Regions from separate parts of the Homo sapiens genome. Here all the other regions are linked to region 6. The links are contacts of gene promoters, found by promoter capture Hi-C in blood cells and fetal thymus (Javierre and others, 2016). All regions are on one chromosome and are shown on one strand. Each heading gives the region's core, a stretch centred on a gene start or on the middle of the fragment in contact. The rest is flanking DNA. Distances are from core to core; before and after follow the strand shown.

The links. Contacts are between HindIII fragments. The CHiCAGO score rates a contact against its expected background, and 5 or more counts as called.
Region 1: a contact is called between a fragment that was not itself captured here and the fragment with the promoter of ACSL4 in region 6, in 2 of 17 cell types (activated CD4 T cells and total B cells). The highest score is 6.1, in activated CD4 T cells.
Region 2: a contact is called between a fragment that was not itself captured here and the fragment with the promoter of ACSL4 in region 6, in 2 of 17 cell types (activated CD4 T cells and total B cells). The highest score is 8.0, in activated CD4 T cells.
Region 3: a fragment that was not itself captured here is called in contact with the fragment with the promoter of ACSL4 in region 6 in 12 of 17 cell types (total B cells, non-activated CD4 T cells, naive CD8 T cells and 9 more); the score reaches 27.8 in total B cells.
Region 4: a fragment that was not itself captured here is called in contact with the fragment with the promoter of ACSL4 in region 6 in 1 of 17 cell types (naive B cells); the score reaches 5.2 in naive B cells.
Region 5: a contact is called between a fragment that was not itself captured here and the fragment with the promoter of ACSL4 in region 6, in 2 of 17 cell types (non-activated CD4 T cells and total B cells). The highest score is 7.3, in non-activated CD4 T cells.

What each region holds. Positions count from the first base shown.
Region 1 is chrX:110,262,124-110,264,823 of GRCh38, forward strand. It overlaps AMMECR1 (AMMECR nuclear protein 1), which reads right to left. Exons shown (of 6, transcript NM_015365.3): 2 at 2,366-2,476. Among named protein-coding and RNA genes, the nearest start is that of SNORD96B, 38 kb to the left of the region's middle. The HindIII fragment of the contact is 3,693 bases long and covers 1-2,700 here.
Region 2 is chrX:110,302,337-110,305,230 of GRCh38, forward strand. The region is part of intron 1 of AMMECR1 (AMMECR nuclear protein 1); the gene reads right to left. Among named protein-coding and RNA genes, the nearest start is that of AMMECR1, 14 kb to the right of the region's middle. The HindIII fragment of the contact is 2,605 bases long and covers 163-2,767 here.
Region 3 is chrX:110,322,692-110,325,391 of GRCh38, forward strand. The region is part of intron 1 of LOC105373312 (a long non-coding RNA gene); the gene reads left to right. It also overlaps a transcript of AMMECR1 not described here. Among named protein-coding and RNA genes, the nearest start is that of AMMECR1, 6.0 kb to the left of the region's middle. The HindIII fragment of the contact is 997 bases long and covers 861-1,857 here.
Region 4 is chrX:110,430,272-110,432,971 of GRCh38, forward strand. The region is part of intron 1 of RTL9 (retrotransposon Gag like 9); the gene reads left to right. It also overlaps a transcript of AMMECR1 not described here. Among named protein-coding and RNA genes, the nearest start is that of RTL9, 73 kb to the left of the region's middle. The HindIII fragment of the contact is 4,673 bases long and covers 1-2,700 here.
Region 5 is chrX:110,412,556-110,415,255 of GRCh38, forward strand. The region is part of intron 1 of RTL9 (retrotransposon Gag like 9); the gene reads left to right. It also overlaps a transcript of AMMECR1 not described here. Among named protein-coding and RNA genes, the nearest start is that of RTL9, 55 kb to the left of the region's middle. The HindIII fragment of the contact is 6,094 bases long and covers 1-2,700 here.
Region 6 is chrX:109,731,685-109,734,597 of GRCh38, forward strand. It overlaps ACSL4 (acyl-CoA synthetase long chain family member 4), which reads right to left and starts at 1,573. Exons shown (of 16, transcript NM_001318510.2): 1 at 1,455-1,573. It overlaps LOC105373311 (a long non-coding RNA gene), which reads left to right and starts at 827. Exons shown (of 1, transcript NR_158569.1): 1 at 827-2,913. RefSeq lists enhancers at 936-985, 1,046-1,185 and silencers at 1,308-1,428, 1,526-1,835. The HindIII fragment of the contact is 5,191 bases long and covers 1-2,913 here.

The sequences.
Region 1 (2,700 bases), core at 59-2,558, 530 kb after region 6:
CCAACTTTTAAAAATGACTCCTTACAACTTTTGATGCTAAAATGAATCCAGGAAAAAAGATTAATTGTATTTTGTAAGACTTGTTTTCTTTTGTTCATCTTTTCCAAATAGTATGATTGTTAATATCTTGTTATACAAAAGAAATTAAGCCAAACAAAAATGAGAAGTAAAACCAGGTATGTGCATGTGTGTATACACACACAAACATATGTATACACACGCACACACACACGCCTCTTTAATGTGATATATACAATTTGAGGAAGCTGTATAGAAACATGAGAAAAAAGATGAAAAGTAAACAGGAAGAGCTATAGATTGCAATGAGGGTAACAAGGTATACAAATGTAGGCAAATTTCCAACTTCAAGTATTTGAACAATTCATTCAGAATCACATTATTGTCAGAAAATTATACTGTAATTCTTCTGGTCATTACCCTAGGATATAAATGGACAAGTCCAGAAAAGTTGGATGTTTTCACCCCTTGCCAACATTGGCAAAAGAATTTATTTTTTTCTTTAAACAAAACCCAATTGCTACCACAATGACCACTACGAAAGATTTCTAAGGTATATAATGTTTGATAATGGGATTTCTGCTACAATTTCACTAGAAAGCACAAAGGGTTTCTATAATACCAACTCTTACTACCCAAATATAAAGTAATATTCTGTTTTGAAAACAGACTTGTGTTTCCAAAAATGTTTTCCTTGGAACACTCAGACTTTGGGGTGGGAGGATAAAAGGGTCCTGTAGTCAAATAAGCCTGGAAAATGCTACATTCTATTTCTCTCTCTTAGATATACATAACACTATTAACATAAAAGGTTCTGAGAAGTCCTACAGTGAGCAGAGTTGTTTACATTTTTTAACCAGTGTTTCCCAAACTTATTTGGTCACAGAATTCTTTTCTTCAGGTAGCGCAAAGGAACCAGTGTTCCTCATAACAACTTATTTTGGGAAATGTACAATAAATTGCCATTGATTAGTATTAAATGTGTAATTTAATATGTACCTGTCCCAAAAAGGTAGCCATTGGCAGAATTTGCTGAAGTCCCAAAAATGAGCCCATTGTATTTTATGTCAGAAAAAAAAAATCTAACATGCCTAGACTAGTACTTATATTATCTTTAACAAGTTGAATTTATTTCCAGAATATGTGTTTCAACCCTTACAGCCTGTATGTTATTTAATCAAATCCAAACACCCAGTTTCTTATACCTGTGAAAAGCTAAAAAATGAATATGATCCCCCAAGCCATTGGTTTTTTTTCTGGGCTTCACTGTAAGCTGAGAAAACCCTGCAGCTGTGAGCTACTGCATACCTTCAAATATGAGAATACCAAACTCAGTTACAGTATTTTATTAACTGGTGCTATGAGCCTGCATTTATGCAGTTCTACAGTAAAATAATGTTCCACATTAATCCTGAAGTAAAATAGTGATTATTACTTCATTCTCCTAACACCTCTATTAAGTATATAGAACAAAATACTGTAATTACTATTTTACCTATGGAGGTTGAGAAACATGCCCCAAGTACCAATAGTCAGCAGGGAGCAATTTCTTGTTGGACAGACACTGTGCATATTACAACTATAGAAACTGTATCAGATAATCACCCTAAAATGTGAACAAAAACAGGAAATTCCTTTACTAATAGCTTATTATTTAAGGAATTTTCTTCTTTTGAAATAATTTTGGGTCACAATTTGCTTGAAATCTAAACTTGAACCAAAAAATTCACATTGTGTGCTAGATAGCTTTTTGTGAATTCAGAAATTAAGAACAAAGTTTTAAACAACTGTAATGAGGAATTACTTTGTCCTTTTATTAGATAAAAGAAAATAAGCAAGCTACAATTAATTCTGGGTGAAGTGTGAATGTGAATGATTATACTGCTAGGCTGTGGCATCACTTTCTTCCTAGGCTCTCCTTTCAATTTCAAAAGTCCTTAAAAGTGTAACAAAATGTGTAAGATGAAAGAGACAACAACTATTTTTAAAAAACACAAGAGGGAAGAAATAATGACTGTTACTATAGAAATCACATATTTTGGTAACCCGTGGACATTTGGTCATTGGTTTTCAAGTTATACAAAATAAGCTGGCCACTGGAAGAAAAAAAAAACACTTCAAAACATCGATGGCAGAATACATTAATCACAGTATTTTATATTATGGTAATATATATCAATAACATTTTACCAGAGAAAAGGTAAATGGTTAAAGACAAAGGAAAAACCTGACATGAAGGAAGACAAGAACGTTGACAATTCAGTAAAAGGAGTTAAAGTATCAGATTCAAGTTTCATAAGTTTTTTTTTTTAATGTAAAAGCAGAGGTAACAAAAATTGGTCTTCACCTGGTAAGTGTGTACTCCCTGAGTCCTGAATGCAAATTCATGGCAGAAAAAGTACCTATGCATCCACGTAATCTTTTGTCTCGACCAATCTTCCATGTTACAAACAGTGGGCTGTAATGGAAGATAAAAATAGGGTAAATAAATCAATTCAATTCAAGCAAGTATTTATTGAGTATTGACTGTCTGCTAGGTTAGGTGCCTGAGATATAAAGACCAAAAGACAGGCCTTCAAGGGGCTCACAGGCCAGCCCAATAGGACTACATTTAGCAAAAGTTATATTATACTACTACTACATTATATTGAGTGTATCCTATATGTTTGCTATCTCAATAAA
Region 2 (2,894 bases), core at 215-2,714, 570 kb after region 6:
GATTGAAAAAAAAACTTGGAAGTCATAAATTTACACCTCCCCATTCCCATCATTCTACCATCTCCCAAAAATGGAAAACCAGCAGGACCAGTAAAGAACTTTGCTAGTGATAAACATTGCTAGAATTTACACAGTAAAAATTCTATAATGAAGGTGCTACCAAGCTTTCAAATATTCAAGATTACTGCTCTTGAAAATGGCAAAGCTCCAGAGAGAAACTATATTGAAGAAGGGGTAAGAGGAGAATTTTCCTAGGCCAGGCGCGGTGACTCACGACTGTAATCCCAGCACTTTGGGAGGCCGAAGTGGGTGGATCACCTGAGGTCAAGAGTTCAAGACCAGCCTGTCCAACATGGTGAAACCCCATCTCTACTAAAAATACAAAAATTAGCCAGGCGTGGTAGCAGTCACCTGTAATCCCCAGCTACTTGGGAGGCTGAGGCAGGAGAATTGCTTGAACCCAGAAGGCAGAGGTTGCAGTGAGCCGAGATCACGCCATTGCACTCCAGTCTAGGCGACAGAGCAAGACTTGGTCTCCAAAAAAATAAATAAACAAATCAAAAAACAAAAAAAAAAGAGAGAGAGAGATTGACTGATTTTCCTAAATTTATACTTCAAATTTGGGGTGGGAGAGATTGAAGTAAAAAGTGTTTAAATATAACAATTCTGAGAAAATGAATGGACCTGAGGCCGTGCTGGACTGGTACAAACTATTTAAATTAGTTAAGAGTTAATGAAGGGTTATTATGAGATGGTGAATATAACTTAATGAAAGTGAAAGAAACCTTAAAGACTAAAGCACTCCTCTTCTGTAAGAACTTATCTGAATTTCTCTAGACTGAGCGGAAATAAACAGAAGCAAAGGTTCTATGTGTAGCCCAATGGAGACAGGAATCAGGGCCCGTTAGACCTACATCCATTTTTTTCACTTTAAAATGGGTTTGCTTGTTCTCTTGCCACAATCAAAACAGAAAAGCCCTGACTTTTTCCCCCAGTTGTGCTCTACACTATGGAGGTGCCTGCCTATTTGAGATGCACGTTGTTTGAAGTCTGTGAAAAATGAAGTTGAAATCTAAATAGTTCAACCCTGTATAAACAAAATTGCCTCCCACTCCCCTGATGAGGGCATCCACCTTTGTTAAGAAAGATTTACGGATATTAAAAGTGATCAGGAACCTCTGTGTGGTCTGTACTAAAAACCACTGGATTCCATTTGGCCTCCTATCCCATTATGTGGCAGGAGTCTATGATTATTACATAGGGTCAACATCTACCTCTTCAACAACTTTTATTCAAAAATATTGTACTACCACTATTTTAACATCTGGTATTTTTTCTCCTCACTCTAATAGTATATAATTCAAATTGCAGATTCGACTATGATAGGAGGGAGAGTTCATTTACTTATAGACATAAACTGACTACATAGAGAACACTGTTAGTGAGCATTACGCTAGTGTTGTTTTCTGTTTCCTGAGTATACTGATACAATGCTCATGCTTTACAATCTGCCAGAGATTAGTCCCATATTTGGAAAATAATTTTCTTATATTCTAAAACATATTCTGGGAATAACAGAAGGGAGTTACTAAAATAGAATTTTACAGTGATCACTGAAAAAGAAGTTTAAGTTCTAAACTTATGTCTTAAAGACACATCTTCAGCTAAAATACTGAGAATTTTGCTTGTTTTTTTCTTCAAAGCATAATCATTCCTCAACATAAACTAAAAATATGCTGCTCATTGTAATTCAGGAAACTATTTTAGAATTTTGTTTCTAAATAACAGTATAAAACCTTTACAAGTTTGCTTATATAGATTGTTTCTTAAGAGTTGTAGCATTCTTAAAGCTCATGTGAAGAACCATAAGGAACATTCCCATTAGCCTAATCTATGTTTAAATTAATTTCATAAAGAAGACTGTCATCATTCACAATCTTCCTAAAATTATTATAATCCCTAGTACCTAAATTATCTCAGTTAAATTTGCAATATCCAAGTAAAATTTCTTCATTAACTTTAGGAGGAAAGAAAGTGACCAAACCATTTAATTGTATCATAATTATAGTATTTTTAAACTACATAACTTTGTAGCTAGACAATTTTTCTAACTTCATCTTTGAGACACTGAAGTTCAGAAGAAAAAAGATCACTGAACATAGAAGGCACTCAGGCAGTGTGACATAACCAATGTTAATCTAACTGACTTAAGCTGAATGCGTACTGAAGAATGAAAGCACTTTGTCTACAGAGCAGACTACTGCTTGTGTTATTTCCTAGTCTCTTGTCAAGGTTTCATGACATTCACAACATTAAAGGTGCTGGTGAGACATAATTAAACAGACAAAGAGAAATTTTACCAAGAAAGAGGCCACTCACAGGCCATTAAAATTTTAAAATTGTCAACTGTTAGACCTTCATTTCCCAATGCTTGTTATAGCTAGTCTCCTTACAGGTCCCCTTTCTTGCTAGGTTCTCCCCCACTTCAACCTACTTTTGATTGGTACCCACTGACCACTGTATAATGCTCATCCTGACCTATGTCTAAGATGTTTCTCTGCCTAGACTGCTTTTTCCATCTATGAAAGTTCTACCTAGCCTAAATCCTATTTTGTCTGTAAAGCTCTCCTGTACAATCTTAGCCCACATTAGTCTACCCAAACAATGAGTCCTACAGACATCACTGTCTCCATCACTCATTTAGCTGTTGAATCATATGTGACTTCATTATTTGTTTCATGAATCTTGTCTTTTCAGTATGACTGCAAGCTTTTTAAGGACATGAAGCATGGTTTATGCCTATTTTATAGATTTCTCACCCATACTCATAAAGGGGTCTAGCATAGTGTTCTACCCAGAACAGCTGTATTACTTGTTGAAATGAAATATTAGAA
Region 3 (2,700 bases), core at 109-2,608, 590 kb after region 6:
AGGAGCAGAAATCTGATCCCTATAACCTCTGCTAGATCCCACTTGAAGTGTAGCTCATTTTGCCTCACTCTATTCACTGCTTAAATGTTCACAATTTATGGCTTATTCTCTCAGCATGAGTAATACACAATGATTGTGTCAGGAAGCTCAGTCGTCTCTCATTACTTACTATTCGGGATTCCTACCCTAGCTCCTAATAGTGCAGCTAACCCTCCAAACTTCAGCCAGATCCTCCATCTGGCCCCTGACGTTGGCTATCCACCCTACAGCCTTTTCTTTGGGGCTGTTCACCTTATGCCACAGCCACTGCCTGGTAAGTAGGCTGCTGCTTAATCCTCAGCTGACTTCTGCATCTTCCACAAGATTCCACAAGGGATTCTAGATTTCTTTCATGCCACTTGACGGTCTTCTAAAACCTCAAGCTGCTATTTCTATTGCAGATACTTCATGGTAGCATATAGCTTTTCTAAGGGGCTTGAAATTTCCCATGCTACACTCTGCTCTGTGTTTCCTCCAGAATTCTCTGGTTTGTTCTTTCTTTCTTCTTTTTATTGAGATATAATTCACAAAGGATACCATCCACCCATTTAAATTTTACAATTCGATGATTTTTAGAATATTCATGCAGTTATGCAACCTTCAACATAATCAATTTTGGACACTTTCATCACCCCAAAAAAGATACCCCATACCCATTAGCAGTTACTCTTCATTCCTTCCTATTCCTCTTCAGCCCTAGACAACCTCTAATCTCCTTTCTGTCTCTATGGATTTACCTATTCTGAGCATTTCATATACATGGAATCATATAATATTTGCCTTTTTGTGTCTGCTTTATTTCAGTTCACATGATGTTTTCAAGCTTCCTCTATGTTGTAGCATCTACCAGTACTTCATTCCTTTTTATGGCCAAATAACATACTGTTATATGGATATATCACATTTTGTTTATCCATTCATCAATTGATTGACATTTGGGTGTTTGCACTTTTTGGTTGTTATGAATAATGTTGCAAAGAAAATTGGTTTACAAGTTTGTGTGTAGATGTGTGTTTTCATTTCTCTCATTTCATTTCATTTCTCTCATTTACCTAGTGGTGGAGTTATTGTGTTATATTATAACTCTGTACTTAACCTTTTCAGAAACTACAGACTGTTTTCCAAATTGACTGTACCATTTTAGAATCCCATCTTCAGAGTCAAAGTTGGGATTACAATTTTAAACTTTTTTGTTAAATTTATTCCTATTTTATTCTTTTTGATGCTATTGAAGATGGAATAATTTTGTTAATTTCAGTTTTGGATTGTTCATTGTATTTTTTTTTTTTTTGAGATGGAGTCTCACTCCAGGCTGGAGTGCAGTGGCATGATCTTGGCTCACTGCAAGCTCTGCCTCCCAGGTTCAAGCAATTCTCCTGCCTCAACCTCCCAAGTAGCTGGGACTACAGGTGCACGCCACAATGCCCAGCTAATTTATGTATTTTTAGTAGAGTCGAGGTTTCACCATATTGGCCAGGCTGGTCTCGAACTCCTGACCTCAAGTGATCTGCCCACTTTAGCCTCCCAAAGTGCTGGGATTACAGGCGTGAGCCACCACACCTGGCCTCATTGCATAATTTAGATCTTGTATCTTGCAACCGAGCTGAATTCATTTCTTACTACTAATAGTTTTTTGTTGGATTTCTTAAGATTTTGTGTACACAAGATTGTGTCATCTGATAGTTTTACTTCTTTCTTTCCAATCTGGATGTATTTTTTTTTCTCTTGTCTAATTGCTTTGCCTAAAACCTCTAGTACAATGTTGAATAGAATTGATGAGAGCAGACATCCCTATCTTATTCCAGATATAATGGGGAAAGCTTTCTGTCTTCTAGCATTAAGTATGATGTTAGCTGTGAGTTTTTAATAGCTTCCCTTAGGTTGAGGAAGGTCCCTTCTACTGGTAGTTTGTTGAGTGTTTTTTTTTTTTTTTAATTTATCATGACAGGTTGGATTTTTTGTCAAATGCTTTTACTGTGTCTATTGACAGGATCATGTGGTTTTTGTTCTTTATGTTGTTGATGTGGCATATTACTTTAATATACCATAAAATTAATACTTTACATTAATTTTGGGATAGTAAATCAACCTTCCAGTCCTGAGATGAATCCCACTTCATCATGGTATATAATTATTTTTTATATGTTGCTGGATCCATTTACTAGTATTTTTGAGGATTTTTACATCTGTATTCATTGTACATCTACATTCAGTGGTCTGAGTTTTCTTTTCTTGTGATGTTTTTGTCTAGTTTTGGCATCAGGAAAATACTGGTCTCATAAATGATTTGGGCAGTTTCCTTCTATTTTTTGGAAGAGCTTGAGAAGGATTTGGTGTTTATTCTTCTTTAAATGTGTGGTAGAATTTAACAGTGAGGCTATCTGGTCCTGGGCTTTTCTTTGTTGGGAGTTTTAAAATTCATTTATTTTTTTAGTTTGAATTTTTTATGCATTCATAGTGTGTTTATGGAGTACATGAGATATTTTGATACTAGCTTACGATGTACAATAATCTCATCAGGAAAATGGGATATGCATCACCTGAAGCATTTGTCATTTTTTTGCATTACAAACATTCCAATTATACTCTTAGTTATTTTTAAATGTACAATAAATTATTGTTGACTATTGTGCTATCAAATACCAGATCTTATTCATTCCA
Region 4 (2,700 bases), core at 24-2,523, 700 kb after region 6:
TTAACAAAGAACAGTAGGCACATCAGGAAAATAATAATTACTAACATTTATTGAGCAATGATTATGTGTCAGGTATCATTCTAAGTGCTTTGTGTGTATTAACTCATTTAATTCTCACTATGATGCTGTGAGGTAGGTTACTATTATTATCTTCACATTACAGAGGAGGCACCAGACTCAGACAGGCTGAATAACTTGGCCAAGGTCACATAGCTAGTGAATGGCGGAACACAGATATGAACCCAGGCACCCTAGAGACACATCTACTTACCACCTTGTATTGGAGAAGAGGTCAACAGTAGTGACAGAAGCAATAGAGTGGAAATTTTCAGTACTGCCAAAACTATGAGAGCCATATAGTCCACACCAGGCATGAAAAGGAAGCTGGCATGGTCTTGTGTTGTCAGTTAACCCTTGTATATAGGGTTTTCATTTCCTAACTAGAGAAGGAGGAGTTTGAAAGCAGGAACCATGAATTACAGCTCTTTGAAATGCTCAACATAGATTTGCTGAGTGAATAAATGACTGTTTTGAAATTAAACACAGGAGTGCTTTGAATAAATTACTTTGCATCTTGTATGTCAAACTGAAATTGGTGAGACATCTTTCACCTTGTGTTAAAAACTAAAAATCCCTAGATGTGGTCATAACATGGCTGGTTATAATGACACCTTGCATTTGTACTTGTGTATGATACTCAGGACTCCCTGAGAAAAGGAATGAAGAAACTTGGATTTTGCCTTCATAGGCCCTGAGGCTGTCAGGAACCAAGGGCCACTGTGTTTGTAATCCATTCCTTTGGCTGCTCTCCAAATCTAGGAAGACCTGGAGGAAAGGGGGGCTTTATTTTCTATCTTTGCCAAGATCAGGAAATAATTTGTGAACTCTCAGTAAACATTCTGGGGGCCTTCCCTCTAACACTGCTTTGGTGGAATAATATCTCCAGTTTTCACCAATCTTGGTTCAATATTTACCTGGGGGTTTGCAGTGATCATGGGGACAGGGCTCCAACATGAAGTGAAGGTTCATGAGAAGGAAAATGAGGGGAAGGCTGTGTGTGTGTGTGTGTGTGTGTGTGTGTGTGCTGGCTGAGGGATGAAGGTGGGAGGAATACCAGGATTCTGAAGCAATGAGAGTGGGATTGGGAGAGAGAGCTCATGTTGAAGAAGAAATAACTCACCAGTTCACATGGGCTCCTTTTCAAGGGTTTTTCTTTATATAAACAATTTGCCTGGTTCCAATTAGAAGCCCACATTAGGCAGTTAGCTCCAATTTGGCAGTTCATTCTTAATTTGGCTTTCCTTATGGGTGGGAGGGAGGGCTGACAGTTAAAAGGTTGATGGGAAAAACCTTGGTATCCTGGTGTGAAGACAGACCCTGGGATCAGAAGGTTGCCCTGATGACTTTGCCAATGTGTTCATTGCCCCTGTCCTGCTGGGGCGCATACAGCAGGCCCTTCTTTCTCATACGCCCTTGACAGACCAGGACTCACTGCTAGAAAACCCCTGGGGAAGTCATTGCTGAAGACTCTAGTGTGGGGCACATTAGGTTTGAGGAGCAGGGGAAACATTCAGGCAGCTGGCAAGGTCTGGGCTACCAGGAGAGATTTGGGAGTTAGAAGCATATTAGGTGAGAGTTGACACTGTCCAAAGGGAGTATATAGAAAGAAAAGCAGAGGAAAGGGCTCATGGAGTCATTACAGCCTGTGAGGTGGGAACAGGGTTTGGGAGTACTAAGGGTTTGGGGAGGGTTTATGTGTTTATTCACCCATTCATTTATTCAACATTTCTTGAGCTTTATGGCAGATGCTGAGTTGAAGAGGAAGCTGGGGATTTAAGAGGGAGAAGAGTTAAGAGGGGATCCCTGGGTGGATCCAGATGAAGGAGAAGGGAGGGGCTAAGTGCCTAGGCTCGCTCTTGCCAGGAGAGCACATCTGTTAACACAAAGCTGCATCTGTATCTCAGCCAGCTCTCTTCCATTTCATCTCCTCCTCTCTACCCACACTTGCAAGACGGGGAGCCACATGGCGGCTTCCTACTCCCTTGTACCACTACACCCCCTGCCGGGTTCTTTCTAGGCATTTAGCTGTGGCATCAGCAGCACCCCTTCTGAGAGATCAGGCAATCCCCAAGGGTGAGTGGTAGTGGTAGTGGTGGGGAGGGTTGATAGCTTCGAGAGAAGAGCTGGAGAAGGCGCTGTCTGGCTGTAATTAGCCCCAGCTGCTGTTGTGAGGCAGCGTTGGGGGCCGTCAGGAGTGTACATGCATGTGTATGAACCTGTGAGCGTGGCACCTCATTGCTATCACTCTATTTTTCACTGTATTGTGTGCTGGCTGCAGCCTCGCTGCTCTGAAACCCCTCCTGTCCCTGAGGATCCCGAAAGACAGAGTGTTCCACAGGCAGCACCAGCTTGAATCACTAATGCTATTAAGCAGGAGGACAACAAATATAGGCCCCCATATGTCCTGGATATGCAAGTCCCTGCTCTCTCTTTCCCCACCCCTGCTTCCTGAATGTTTCCAAGTGAGTGAAGTCCCAGCACTTGAAATTAGCAACACCTCACTTCTGCACAGCCTTTTGGCAAAGAGCTTTCACAGCTGCCATGTCATGCATCCTCAGACGCTTCTAGGAGAAGCATTTTATAGGTGAGGACCCTGTGGTTCAGGGAGGTGGAGAGATTTGCACAGGCTAACCCAGACAG
Region 5 (2,700 bases), core at 77-2,576, 680 kb after region 6:
AAAGTAACAATTCATGAAGTTGTGAAGAGTAAATGAGATAATTCATATGAAATATTCAGATAGGACCTGGCACAGAGCATTTAATAATTGCTACACATTACTATTCCAACTACTAGTATAATGATGACAATGACGATGTAGCCACAAATAAAGACAAGCTAGATCTTTAAATACTGATGTGCAATGATATCTCCAATATAGTATTGTGATAAAAGCAAGTTGCAGAAGAGTAAGTATAGTAGGATCTGATTTTTGTTAAGGGTATTATATGTTACACATACAGGAAAAGACTGGAAGGATAGACAGACTGTCAACACTGGGGAGTAGAATAGGAGAGGTAGATTTTCCCTTGAGCAATAATTAGAGTTGTTTGAAACTAGCATGTGCTACTTTTATAATAAACAAAAGATGTAAAGGGAAAAAAAAGCTCCGTTTGGAATTCCGAGGACAGTTAATCCCACCAGGCTTCACATCCCCCAGTTCTTGGCCACAGCCCAAACGTTAAGCCTCCCTGCTCGTCATCTGTCCTCTCCCATACCATCCTCATACTGCTCAGTGCTCCCATCCCTGCCACCCCGACTCATCCACCTCCCCACTACCGCCCTCTCTCACTCTTCTCAGTACCCTCTGGAAGCCCCCACCTTGCAGTAAACAATTCCCCCTACACCCTGGATAAATTTTACAGAGCACTATTGTCTACCTCCGGGCCTGGAAGTGCTGAAACCTGAGTCTCCACGGCGGATCTCACGGCTTTGCCACCAGCGCCCTCTAGTGGACACTGTCCACACTCCCACACTACAGGCACCCTAGGGCTGGGAGGTGGGGTCTGTGCTCTAGCTTCCCCTGTTTGCTTCCAGGCTGTTAGTCCTCCGTCCTCAGCCAAGAACTCCTCCTTCTCATGCCATCTGGCTACTTCTCTCCTCGTTGACGCTTCTTTATAACCATCCCCTCCTGGTCAACCCCCCCCCACCCCCACATTCAACGAAGAGTTCGACATCTGGCTCATTGTCTTCTTCTCCACCCCAAGTCCTGACATCATTCTGGGTGAGTTGGACATCCGTGATCCATGTACAGGACACACTCTCATCCTAGCCTTACCATGCTTCATCATCAGTCAGAACCCCCTACCATCTACACCTTGCTGGCTGGCCTCAACGCTCTTCTTTTTACCTCAGGAGGCTCTCCAGTTTTTTGAGCCCCCTCCATCCATTTCTTCCATCCCATCAGCCCCTTTCACCTTACTACCTTCCCTCTCCATCCTGGAACATGATGATGATGATGATAAGAATAACAACTAATATGTATGTGCCAGGCATATACTACCCATCTTATGACATCATTTCAGTAATCTCATGTTATCCTCACAATAACTTTATGAGGAAGATACTATTGTGGTTTTCCTTTTAATGAGGTGACTGAGGCTCAGAGAGGTTGAGTGACTTACCCAAAGTCCCACAGCAGAGATGAGATTTGAAGTCAGGTCTGTTTGCTTTCAGAATCTTGCGTATATCCCCAATTCCCTTGCCCTGTGTCTTTCTGCTGCATCCATGAGGCAAAATCCTAAGTCTGGATAAATTTAACTGACAGTTTCCTCCTCTGTGCTTATGCCCAGATGGAGGAACATTGCTGGAGAAAATCCCATCACTTTGTTGGTTAGTCCCACCAGAAAGTCATAGTTTCCAACCTCAGCGGGGCCCTCAACTCAGCTAAACAATCCTTCTAAGTAACTGTCCTGACAATAGCACTTGCAAACTTTCTCCACTGCCCTCTGGAGTCAGACTGTCTGGGTTAGAGTCTGCTTTGGCCACTTCCATGCTCCATACCATGCCAGCCTTTAAGAAAGGGTGAAGTGGAGGAAAAAGGATGAGGGGAAAGGGGAAGTGATATGTATCGAGTGTCTTCTAGGTACCAGCCACTGTGCCAGGTGCTTTGCATGCAGTGTTTCATTTAATCCTGCCAGCAGCCCTGCAAGGGCAATACTCTTGTTATTTTTGCTTTACAGAGGAGGAAGCTGAGGCACAGACAGGTTAAGTCACTCACTAACGTGACACAATTTGTATGTGGAGAAGCCATCTCATTCGTTTAGACCTTCCTTATCTTGATGAATTATTGTGACAAGCTGATAAATGGGTCCCCTGTTACCTATCTCATGCCCTACAATCTACCTTCCATTCTGTTGCTGGGACAATCTTTCTAAAATGCACATCTGACAGTGCTACTACTCTGCTTAAAGTCCTTCCAGAGCTTCCCCTCAGTCTTCAGAATGAAACAGAAACCTTTGATCTTAATGATTTGGCCCTGTCCTTCCTTTCTCACTGCATCCACTACCACTTGCCCATGCAGTCACACAGTACTATTTTTGGCCACCTGATGACACCTTGCTTTCTTCTGAAGAAAGAAGAAAGCATATATATATATATTCTCTGCCTCCCCATCCTCCACACCCTTTCCTGCCCACTTTAAATGCTCCTCTTCTGTGCTTTCACAGCATTCATGTTTATCCCAGTGTGTTATAATTTCCTGCTGTCTTCTCTGTTTCCCCCATTAAACTGGAAGCATCTTGAGAACTGGGATTGTGCCTTAGTCATCTCTGTACTCCCCAGGGCCGTAGCACCAGAGCCATGGTTAAATCTATGTTTGTTGAATGACTGAATTAATGAATGAATAGAGTGAATGAGAGAAGAAAAAGCTCTCACTTGG
Region 6 (2,913 bases), core at 323-2,822:
AAGGTACTTTATTCTAAGGTACAAGTATACTAACAGTTTAATGTTTCATCCCCCACCTAAATGGCAGAGAGTGTTAATTCTAACAGGAGTCTTACATGTCTTACACTTTAGCAGTTTCAATCAAAAGATGAGCTATTTTACAATTTAAGGAAGAGGCCTTACACTGTTAAAATCTTGACCGATATGCTCAATGGCAGTACCATCATTGAATCTCCACCTGCTGCCTTACGTATCAAGAACATTTAAAAGTCTTTCTTGTTAGAGACAAAATAAAAGAAAAACTAAGGTGACAAGCGACTATGAGAAATAAGGCTTTAATCAGGTTAAATTTGCATTATGCAGCCTGCATGAATTTAGAGGTCCTAGAATCAAAACACTAGAAGGAACCTTTGATATGCTCTAGTTCAACAGACTGATTTTTGCAGAAGAGGAAACTGAAGCGCTGATGAGACCATTAACTGATAAAGCAAACCGCTTACTTTTTCAAAGGGATTCATTTCAATGCCATTTTACCCTTATTTTGCATCTCACTGTTGTTTCTCAGAGCGACGATTGACCTTTTTTTAGGTGAAAAGAGCGAATAGAGCGTATTAATTTCAAGAGGGTGAAAAATGCCTTTGAAGGAGGAGATGCTGGAGTGAAGAGGAGAAATGACGTCTTATTTAAAATATGTAACCCCTTGATGGGGTTAGACAATGAATCATATTCTCCTAGATTTTTCTATGTCTATAGACATCAGCCACAGTTCTTTCAGGCACTCAAACGAGAGGAAGAGGAAGTGAATAAAGCTCATACTAAATATATAGCACCCACTGAAGGCAGGGATGTAGACAGAAAGAACGGGGGTGGGGGAAGGAAGGAAAGCACGCTTCGCCAGGATCCAGCTGTTTTCTAACAAACCTAAGCCTACGGAAGCTAGGAAGATATCGGAAGCAAGGAAGATATCGGAAGCGACGGCATCCCTCAAATTCGAGAGGGCGGATGCCTCTAGGGCTAGAGAGGCTCCCTAGCCCTCAGTTACAGAGCGACTGGGAGGGGACAAAATGGAGTTGAGGTTTAGGGGCACCCTAAAGGTCGTTTGGAGGTCTAGCAAGCACTTCATGGTCTCCTCCGGAAAGGGCCGTGGCAAAGCCTAGTACCCCGATCAGGAAGATGACTTCTGGCCCTCGGGATGCGGTGAGCGGCAGGAAGAGGCAGGCTGGGGTTCCGAGGACCCCAGAGTCCATCACAGGAGCAGATACAGTGACCTCGGGAATCTTCCCGGCCCCAGCGGAGGCGAGCGGATAGATAGCCCTGGCTCAAGGAAAAAAGCGAGCCGACTCCAGGAGCTGGAATGCCCACCCAACCTCCTCCCGGCTCAGGTGAGGTACGCCAGTCCCCCTCTGGAAATGGGGCCCTGGTACCGACAGGGCAGGGGTGCCGGGGCCGCAACCTCCCCATCCAGGGATACTCACCGGAGGGGCGGCCCACCGCGTCTTCGCAGCCGGCCGGCGCCTGGCACTCGGAAAGCTCGCAAAAAGGAACCGCGTGCCCGCTAGCGCTGGGACGAGGAGGAGCGCGCGGCGGAGGCCAGAGAAAAAGCCGCAGCGGCGCGCGCGCACCCGGACAGCCGGCGGAGGCGGGACTCAGCGCGAGCCCGGAAAAGACGCGCCCGGAGGGGCGGGCGGAGCGGGGGCGCGCGGTGGTGTGGCAGAGCCAGCCGAATCGCTGGCTGCAGACGGCTCGGCCCACCCACGCGCCCGCCCCCGCTCGCCCGGGACGTCAGTCGAAAAGGCGGAGCCGAACGGGCTTCCCGGGGCGCGGGAGGGGCGCTGCGAGGAAGGCGAGGCGGCTAACGGCTCGCCTCAAGTTGTTGCTCCCGCTGGCGATCCGCTTCTGTCAGTCTCGCTGCTGGTGTCGTTGAGTGTGTTTCGGGATGTCCTTGCGCCTAACAGCAGTGAGGCGCAGAATTGGCCCACGCCCTCACCTGCGGCTTGCTTCGCAGGACTCCACCCCAGGATAAAAGTTCCCCTCGGGTCATCTTCCAGCTGCCCTCAAAAGACACTCATTTTTGGGTTTCACTGCTCCTCTTTAAGAGAGCTATCTTGAACACTTTGACTAAAAGCATCTTGCTCCTGTAAGCCTGAACTAATGCCTCTCATCCGTTTATCTTGCCTCTTACTGCGTTAAGATCCCCGCTCACTCCCACTGATGAAATATCACAAGGACGCAGGATTTTCACGTTGTCTTTCATTTCCACGATGGTATCATGGCAAAAAAACCCCCAACTGATAAGGAAAAGTCACCGCAGCTTTGTGACATCTTACTAGCCCTGATCATTGCTTATAAGCCGGTCATACGAATGCTGTTCCAACAGATGCAAGAAATTGCTATTAAAATTAAAATGCCAGCGAACTATCTGAGGGCTTCAAAAGGGACAGACCATAATTGCAAATGAGGCCTGATAAACTGCCAAGAATATATCACCCAAAAAAATAAATCTCAAGAATTCTTCCAGTTCCCTGATGCGTAATGGTGAACTAGCTTCCTGTTCCTGATGGTAATTGACATTTCACTTCACTTGCTGATTTCCATTTTCCCATAGAATTACCATTTGTGCTTGTGTGTGTGTATATATATATGTATATATAAAATGCCTTACCACCTGAGATTACAAGCTAGAGTAGTTCTTCAGTGTGCATCACAATTATCTGGGGTGCTTGTTGAAATGTAGGTACCTGGAGCTACAACCCCCAGGTATTTTGATTCTGATCTGGGTAGGGATAAGAAATTTGAATTTTTAATAAGCAGCCCAGGTGACACTAAAAGTGGTTAGCTGAGAGCACAGAGCTATAGTTTTTGTGTTACTACTCTAAAGCCATATTACCAATTCAATTTCCAAGAAACCCACCCACTTACATATAATATACCTAT